Regions from separate parts of the Homo sapiens genome. Here region 1 is linked to region 2. The links are contacts of gene promoters, found by promoter capture Hi-C in blood cells and fetal thymus (Javierre and others, 2016). All regions are on one chromosome and are shown on one strand. The core of a region is centred on a gene start or on the middle of the fragment in contact, and the rest is flanking DNA. Distances in the headings are between cores, read along the strand shown. Region 1 has its middle 220 kb from the start of LINC01029. Region 2 holds the start of SALL3 (spalt like transcription factor 3).

Region 1 (4,478 bases), core at 888-3,387, 1.2 Mb after region 2:
ATAGAAAACCTGGTGTGTTTCTAAAGTTGTTAGAGTCTCCGATAGTTTTAGACATATTACATTAAAAAAAAGAAAACTGAGCTGTGCAGAATGGACACTTAAGGACCAGAATGGATCTGAGCTTGTGGAGTGAACCATACAGATCATCAGAGAAAAGACCCCAATACACTTAGTCTCCTTAGAGGGGTTGGACAGGTGCCTGTGGTTGTATCAGGGTACCAAATTGCCTTTCCTGAAAAATGGGAATTGAGGGTAAACATGAAAAGCAAAGCTACAATAATTCTAATGCTCATTATATTATTGAACCATGTGACTAGGAAATGAGTGAAATTCTGAGAAAACTGGAATTTGAGGCTAGCAAATGGCCAGATGAGGTATTATTTTTCTAGAAGTCTTAGCTTGTAATGCAAACGCGTGCACTTACACACACACTCTGAGGAAATACTGTTGCATACTGGAGTTCCTTGCCTATCATAAAAAGCTTGTGACATCCCATCAATATCTAATTGTATTAGTTATTCTACAGGGGTTCCAGGAAAACTGATGGAGAGGACTCTCAAGTATTGATCAACGTCCTGAAATCCCGTCCTATTGTTTACTGAACTGGTCAATTATCATTGAATTTTTCATTTTGAGTTGAAATGGAAAATTAACAAAAATTAAGCAATTTTGTAAAACATGTTATCATGAATGGAAAAGAACTGAGGTTTTAGTGTCACACTACATACTCATAGCTTTTTGTCTAGACATATTATAAAATAAATACATGTCATTATTAACATATCAACTAGCCAAAATCATCTCCCACTACCCTTTTCTATCAAATGAAATAGAACAGAAACAATATTAATTTACCTGTTATCTTAGACTTATAATCTTCTCTCTCGAAGTCAGAATATTGAAAGTTATTAACTGTTAAGATCGCAACTATTATCTCATTGGTTTGATCATAAGCCAGATTTTAAAACATCTATTGACAAAAATTACATGTTAACTGTTTGAGTTTTTTAAAGAACTAACTATTTTTAATTAAATTAATTTTCTGGTCTTAAAGTAGAAAAATAGAGAATCCAACAGGTGGATTATTTTTTAGATAGGTAACAACATAAAGTAAAATCTCCTGTATGATATAAGCTAACAGTGGAAATGTCCAGATTTTAAAATATACATAACCCAGAAATGCCAAGATGTCATGGAGAAGAATTATGGGAAATCCAGAAAAAGCAGTTTCTACCTATGTCTCATGACTGAGCTTGACACACATTTTAGGTCTGGGAAGCAACAAATGTGTGTTTGTCGGGCCTACAGAATGCCTGTTGTGGTCTCCATGCCAGCTGAGAACACTGTGACAAATACAGATTAGAGCGATAGTAAATACATTTCACACACAATCGAGGGGTTACCTTAGTTGTTCACATCTAGACAATTGTCAGTTCTAGATACTGAATATGCATTCTGATTGGTCCATTTATGGATTTATGGAACAGAAAGTAACATTGAGGGGAGCAAAAATAAGTATGCCTAGGGTTTTTCAGGGGCAGTAAAATGTGCATTTGAGAAAAATCAGGCCTGTATTATTAGCAATTAACAAGGCAGGTTAAAGAGGCGAGTAGCAGATGGAGATCAGGCTGTAAAATGACCCCACCATCATGACCACATCACCAGACAATGCCACCATGACCACGCCATCAGGATTATGCCACCAAAACCATTCCACCATGGCCATTCCATCACAGCCATGCCACCACAGCGATGCCACCAGGACCATGACATCACAGCCATGCCACCGCAGCTATGCCACCAGGACATTGACATCACAGGGATCAACCACAGTGATGCCACCAGGACCAAGCCATCTCAGCCATGCCACCACAGTGATGCCACCAAGACCAAGCCATCACAGCCATGCCACCACACTGATGCCATCAGGACCAAGCCATCACAGCCATGCAACCACACCAATGCCACCAGGACCATGACACCACAGCCATGCCACCACAGCTATGCCACCAGGACCATGACATAATAGGGATGCCACCATAGCGATGCCACCAGGACCAAGCCATCTCAGCCATGCCATCACACCGATGCCACCAGGACCAAGCCATCATAGCCATGCCACCACAGCAATGCCACCAGGACCAAGCCATCACAGCCATGCCACCACAGCGATGCCACCAGGACCAAGCCATCACAGCCATGCCACCACACCAATGCCACGAGGACCATGACACCACAGCCATGCCACCACAGCGATGCCACCAGGACCATGACACCACAGCCATGCCACCACAGCAATGCCACCAGGACCATGACACCACAGCCATGCCCCCACACCAATGCCACCAGGACCATGACACCACAGCCACACCACCACAGCAATGCCACCAGGACCATGACACCACAGCCATGCCCCCACACCAATGCCACCAGGACCATGACACCACAGCCATGCCACCACAGCGATGCCACCAGGACCAAGCCATCACAGCCATGCCACCACAGCGATGCCACCAGGACCATGACACCACAGCCATGCCACCACAGCGATGCCACCAGGACCATGACACCACAGCACCATTACCACATCCTCATGACCACATCATCATAACTAGAGATAGAGAGATTGCTCAACCCATTAGGGAGCACAAATATCAAGGAGAGTCAGTTCTTTGATTTTGCTCCACATTATTTATAGAATGCAAGATGTCAAGAGCACGATTTACAGATAAAATCTCCTTTAGAACCTTTTTATTTCCTATGTAAATTTACCAAAATCACAGGAAAATGTGTTTGTCTTAATCTTAGAAACCTTTTGTCATTGCATCTTACCTTTTATCAAAAGTAACCTTTAAAAAAAAACATTGCCTACTGTGACCAAAAACAGTCAACAAAAAGAACAATCTTAATCGCTTTAAAGGAGTCCGATAGAGTTGTAATTTGCCTTATAAACCACGTCACTGTGCCAGAGATTTACAGCAACATGTGATCTTTAAATAGACTGTATATCACCTTCCTGATGGTCATGCAATTAAGGATCTGGACATGAGGAACAAGACACTGCCAAAAAATACTTCTCAAAAGGGAATTTGTAATGTCAGGGAAGATAAAAATAATTTAGAATTCAGGGCGACATGATTTTAATGCTAAATACTTTGTGAAGATTAAGCCCCCAAATGTCCTATCTAATGCATAGAGTCTTTACTCTGGGCAACATGGGTAGAATGAAAGGAGATTAAAAAAGAAAACATAAGAAAAAGAATTTAATTAGGCAAAGAGCAAGCATATCGTAGATTTAATGAAATAAGATTGTTCAACTTATTTTATAAATAAGTAGTTTTAACAGCAAAATGTGAAATGCCTATGTAAAACAAAACAATGCAGTCAAGGTACTCCTTGCAATCTCTACTCAACCAAATGTTTTGGTAATTTGAGGCATTAGATTCATTGACTGAAATTTTAAAATTTTATCCAGATACTGTGTCATATACATAGAAAAGCTAAGATTGCACTTGTTAGTGTCATGACAGGCCTCACCTTCTCCCACTGAGCTTATTCGGGGCCTCTTCATGAAAATTGAGCTCAGAGTATTTAACAAAGAAAACCAATTGCCCAGACCTACTTCTATTCCCAATATACTACTGATATGAAAGGATTCTTACATCTATTAAATATAGTACTTATAAAAACAGAACATAAACATTATGTGTGAAATTATTGGATTTTTATTTGTTTTTGTTCAGCTTCATGAGTTCAGGGTCAGTGTTTGTTTATTGCTTTATCCCTAAGCTTCTAACACCAAGACCAGAAAATGGTAGACATGGAAAGGAGGCTTGTGGAATAAATGAATAAATAATCTCCACACTATTTCTTCAAATATTTCAAATCTCACGTTGCCATGTTCCTCTTCCTTAATATATTATTATGATATATTATATGATACACTCTGAGTTGTATATATAAAACATGTGTTACGTATTGTTCATATGTAAATGCGTGTGTGTGTGTGTGTGTATGGATTTGTATGGATATACCTGTGTGCCTGTAAACATGTATAAATACTATATGTACAATATGTTATATATAGTTAAGTACATGTTGATAGGCTGACATGTATCTATGCATGTATATGTGTATATATAGTGTATTATACATATAATTTATTATTCTCAGGACATGAACACAATTTTTATTTTTAGTTTTTATTTTGCACACGGGCTAAAGAATATGCCTTTGCAAACTACAGGTATAGGAGTAGTTATGAGGCAAAGAGTCTGAAGAAGAGCCTGATGGCATGTGTGCCCCTTGCTCTCACTTTTCTATCCATATCTGTTGCTCCTTTTCTGTACACCAGGCGCTGTGTTAGGCTCCAAGGATTAAAGCAACAGTAACAAAACCCATACTCACTTCTGCATTGGCTGCGATTCTTCCGCACGTTTAACCATTAACTTCTCTTTTGGTTAAAAAAGCTGCATTTT
Region 2 (4,410 bases), core at 1,119-3,618:
CACACGTTTACACTATTAAGTTCAGCATGCTCACATTTCTGAAGTGAAATTAAAAATGAATAGCAGTGCCTCAGCTTGTTAATTGTTAAATACCAGGGGGTTTACTCTATTAATTAAAATATGCTTTAATAAAAGGAGACATCGCACATTTTGATACCGACCCTACAAAGCTGAGAAGTATTTACATTGTTGCATTTTGGGGCGGCTGTGAAAGCCGATTTTAAGCCATTCAGGAGCCACAATAATAAAGCTTTAAAATTCCTCACTGGGACGCAATGTAGTTCTTTTGAAGGAAAGACTGTCTTTCTCATTCGGCAGAAATAAATCCATTCATTTGATCATGTAGTCATTGAGGGCGATACAAAACAAACCAAGTGTGAGAAATTCTATGTGATGAAGTAAACAAAACAAAAAAAAATCCATTTCCATGACAAAAAGATTCTTTGTCCTTAATCTACCCACCATATGCAAGCGTTTCTTTTTAGCATATCGCCTGTTCTCATCTTGGCTGACTTGGCTACACAGATAAGACTCCCTTACCTCCACCGCAACAAAAAGACCCCAGCGAGCTCACTAATTTTATTTAATTCATTAATTCTCCAGCCGCGTCATAAGCATGCTCTCTCGTTCTCATCCGACATGGGTGTCTACCCGCTTTGTCAAACTTTACTCCACTGTGTGGGAAACTCTTCCGCCCCGTTTCCTTTTCGCAGACAGTCTCATTCTCAGAGTAAAAAGATCACCATCTGCCTCCAACAACTTATAACAGGTCAATCATAAAAGTTGGCCTGCCTGTTTTTTTAAGGAGCAAATTATTTTACTGCGAGCTGTGCTGCGGGCTCGGGGTCGTGGGGTCGCCCCTCCTCGGCCCTCTTTCCTGGCGCCCTGGGGGCCCCGCGGGGCGCGCCGAAGCCCGGGCGCCGCCGGCCGAGGTTTTGACTCGACGAAGGGGGTGGGGGCGCCCCAAACTTTGCGGGGCTAAGGCGCCACTCTGGGAAGTCCAGCCCTTTGCCAGTCTCTTAACTTTCGCGGCGCCTGCCCTTTGCTCTTGGATGTTTCGAAGAGGACGCTCCTACCAGCGAAATGACTGCAAAGCCGAGGTCTCCAGCGCCCGGCCTCGGCGGATCCAAAAAGACGGGAGAGAAAAGGCCCGCGCAGACGCTGCAACGAACGCCCCGGAAACACGCCGCGAGCAGGGGCCAGGCCCAGGCCGCCGCCGCTGCGCTCACCCCCAGCTTAATTCCCCGGGCGGCCATTAGGCAGAGCCAAGCCCCCGACCTTCTCCTCGCCTCGCGAGGGATCACAGGCTGCGTCAACGCGCTGGGACACCGCGGGTCACCCGAGGCGGTGCGGGGGCCCGGGAGGGGCCGCGGGCCCCCGAACAAAGCTGGCCGGGCGGCGGGGTCCCCAACCCGCGTCCAGCGGTAGGTGGGCTGCGGTCGCCTTCCCCGCCGCCGCCGGCCTCAGCGTCCTGGCGCAGAGACCCTGGGGGGCGGCGCGGCGGCGGAGGCACCGTGGACTCCCTCCCGCCCCGGCCTCCGAGCCGTCCTCGAGCCGGCCGCGGCCTCGGCGCCCTTCGCGGGCAGCTCCCCGACTCCGAGGAGAGGAGCCAAGTTTACTTCGCCCACAACTCTCTCGGCGGCCGCGCGCGCTCCGGCGAAGTACCCGGGGCCCCGCGGCCGGCCTGGCGCGGGGCGGACGCTTGCCCGCAGGAAGCAGGGAACTTTCTCCCGCTCCCGGACGCGCGCATCCGCTCCCGCCGCACGCGCTTCCCCAGCCCGGACGGGCAGCCCCAGACCCCCCGGCCACCCCGCAGCCCCGGCCCTCACCGTGCTCGGGAGCCCCGTCAGGCGGCAGCAGCTCCTCGTCCGACTTGAGGTGCTGGGGCTTGGCCTGCTTGCGCCGAGACATGCTGCTAGCGGCGCTCGGGCCCCGCGCGGGGCAGCGGCATCAGCGGGGCGGCCGGCGGGGACGGCGCGGGGCGGCCTGGCGGGCGCGCGGCGCGGGGCGCGGGGCGGCGGCGGCTGCGCGGGCCGCGCATGGGGCTGAGCAATTAGGCTGGTGAATAATGCATGGCCATTAGCGGAGGGCCGCGCCGATTGGCCGGGCTCCAGCGGACTCCGGCGGCCTATGCAAATGAGGCCGCGCTCGCAATTAGCGGCCGCGCCGACGAGGAGGGGGCCGCGGCGCCTCGGGACCGGGGCGCGCGCTGCCCGGCGCCGCCTCACATCGCGGGCTCCGGCGCCGCGCTCCTCGGCCGCCCCGGGTGCGGCTGTGGCGGGGCCCGGGTGCGGCGCGGGCCGCGGTGGCCGTCCCTCCGCAGGGCGCAGGCAGCAAACTTTGGCGGCGTCCGCGCGGCGCCGTCTCCGCCGGCGCGCCGGGCTCGCCCCTTTATAGAGTGTCTGCGCCGCCGCCCGCGCCCCCCCCGCCGCCGCCGCCGGGCGGCCCCTCCCGGAGCGAGCGGCCGCGGGCAGGGCTCCGACCCGGCGCCTTTGTCTCGCCCGGGCCGCTCGGGCGCCGCGCCTCCTGTTCCGGGCGCGCGGGGTCGGCCGGCCGCCTTCGCTGCTCCGCCGCGGCTCTCAGCGCCGCTCAGCGCGGCGGGCCCGCCCGGGCTCAGGTGCCCCCCGCTCTCCGGACCTTCTCGCCCGGCCCCGCGTCCCCTCCGCGGGCTTCCCCCGGCGGCCGGCCGGGCTCGGAGGCTCGCGGCCGGAGCGGAGCGGAGTGCGCACGCCGGGGTGGCAGGACTTCGGCAAGACCAACTTTCCGGTTCGGAAGCGGCGCGGGCCGCGCGGCTCCTCCCCTCCTCTCCCTCCCCTGCGTTCCCCCTCCCTTCCACTCCCCCCTCTCCCCGCCCCCCAACCCGCGGGCCCCACCGACTCCGGAGCGCCCGCCCCGCCCGCTGCTGCCACCGGGCCGCCTCGCCCCCGCGCCAGCCCGCCTGGGCCTCTGCGCCGCCGGCGGCTTCTTAAATACAGGAAAGGGAGGGGACCGCAGGGCCCCGGTGTTCCCCACCCTAGTCCCCCTTCACCACGGGCCACCGGGCGCCAGCGGAGTGGGCAGCGAGCGCGACCGAAAGTTCCAACTCCACCAAACTCCCGCGCGCGGCCCACCCTTTCCCGGGATTTCGGGGATGACACGGGGGCCAGGTGAGGGGGCTGCGCACTTCTGGATCGGCCCCACACACTCGGCCCCTGGCGCGGCGCGCTCCCCGCACACGCGCCCGCCCCCTCCCCGCGGTCACACGCACGCGCCCTCGCCCTCGCCCCGCGCGCACAGGCGCGTACTCCCACCCGCGGCCGTGCACCCGCCGCGCTCCTTCCCGCGCGTGTCCTCTCTCCCCGAGCGGCCGCCAGGATGTGCCCCCGGCCCCGTCGTCGCCGCGCCCGCGCCCCTCGCCCCAGTACGTCTTTTTTCGTTTCCTAAATTTCTTATTTTTGTCCTTGCAAGTGGTCCTGTCTGGTGTGAACCGTCAGCACAGATGGCCTCCTGGAGCTTCCCCGAGTCGTTCGCTGGGGGAAGCGGGCGGTGAGCGGCCAGCCCGGGCGCTCCGCAGGCCGCGAGCTCCCGGCAGGGCTGGTGGCGGGGGTCCGCCTGGGGGAGGAATCCCCGCCTGCTCCATCGGACCCGGCCTGGCGCGGCTCGCGGCGCTCGGCGGGCTCCCTTCCATTCTAGAATCTTCCCGCTTGCTTCCCAGCCCGCGTTCTTCCGCCTGCCTTTAATTGTGTAAGTTTGACGAAGTCAGAGCTTTGGGTTCCAGGAAAAGCGCAGGAGGGTCATAGAGGAAGGGAGGGCGCAGGTTGGAGTCAGGTCCAAACAGTCCCTATCGCCACTTTTGAAAAAAAAAAAAAACAACAAAAACCCTTAAGGTTGGTTTTATTTTGCCTTTTGGTAGCGGGCGTATTCATTTAGATTTTTTTTTCAAGACAGGCAAATAAAAGGTGTTTGAAATCTCTAGTTATCCCGTTTAACACACCCATCGATGGCGCTTTTCTAGTTAAGCTACGGGGGAAACGTCTTTATCCCGCAGTTAGGCTGCGAACTTGTGCAGATGCTCAGGCTTTGTGGAGACGCTCCGGCATCTGGCGCAGAGGCGCCCGGCGGGGAAAAGTTTGCAGCCCGGGCTTTGGGGCGCGCGGGGGGCAGGAATTTTTCTGAGAAGAGAGGGGCATAGAGAGGCGGCGCGGGTGGGGAGAGAAAAAAGGAACGCAGGGGGGAGGGGGAAAAGCAGCTTGCAGGATGGGAGTTTCTTGCAGAATTTACAGGATTAAGGAGTTTGGGGAAGTCGCAGAGCTGCAGCGGAAAGGCAGGGGTCTGAGACTACTTTTGAGAAGAGAAACAACGCAAAACGATCGCTGGAGGGCCAGAGCCCTGGTCGAAGGTGCCCTAGCTTTTATGACCTGGTTAATTGTG

Evidence for each region. The method cuts DNA at HindIII sites, captures the fragments that hold promoters and counts their contacts. A CHiCAGO score of 5 or more calls a contact.
Region 1: a contact is called between a fragment that was not itself captured here and the fragment with the promoter of SALL3 in region 2, in 1 of 17 cell types (endothelial precursors). The highest score is 5.8, in endothelial precursors.

Annotation. Positions count from the first base shown.
Region 1 is chr18:77,767,146-77,771,623 of GRCh38, reverse strand. No RefSeq gene overlaps it. Among named protein-coding and RNA genes, the nearest start is that of LINC01029, 220 kb to the left of the region's middle. The HindIII fragment of the contact is 3,308 bases long and covers 484-3,791 here.
Region 2 is chr18:78,977,776-78,982,185 of GRCh38, reverse strand. It overlaps SALL3 (spalt like transcription factor 3), which reads right to left and starts at 2,368. Exons shown (of 3, transcript NM_171999.4): 1 at 1,830-2,368. The coding sequence starts at 1,911. LINC01896 (long intergenic non-protein coding RNA 1896) reads left to right here and starts at 2,495. Exons shown (of 5, transcript NR_187297.1): 1 at 2,495-3,146; 2 at 3,448-3,723; 3 at 4,254-4,378. RefSeq lists an enhancer at 122-951. The HindIII fragment of the contact is 14,735 bases long and covers 253-4,410 here.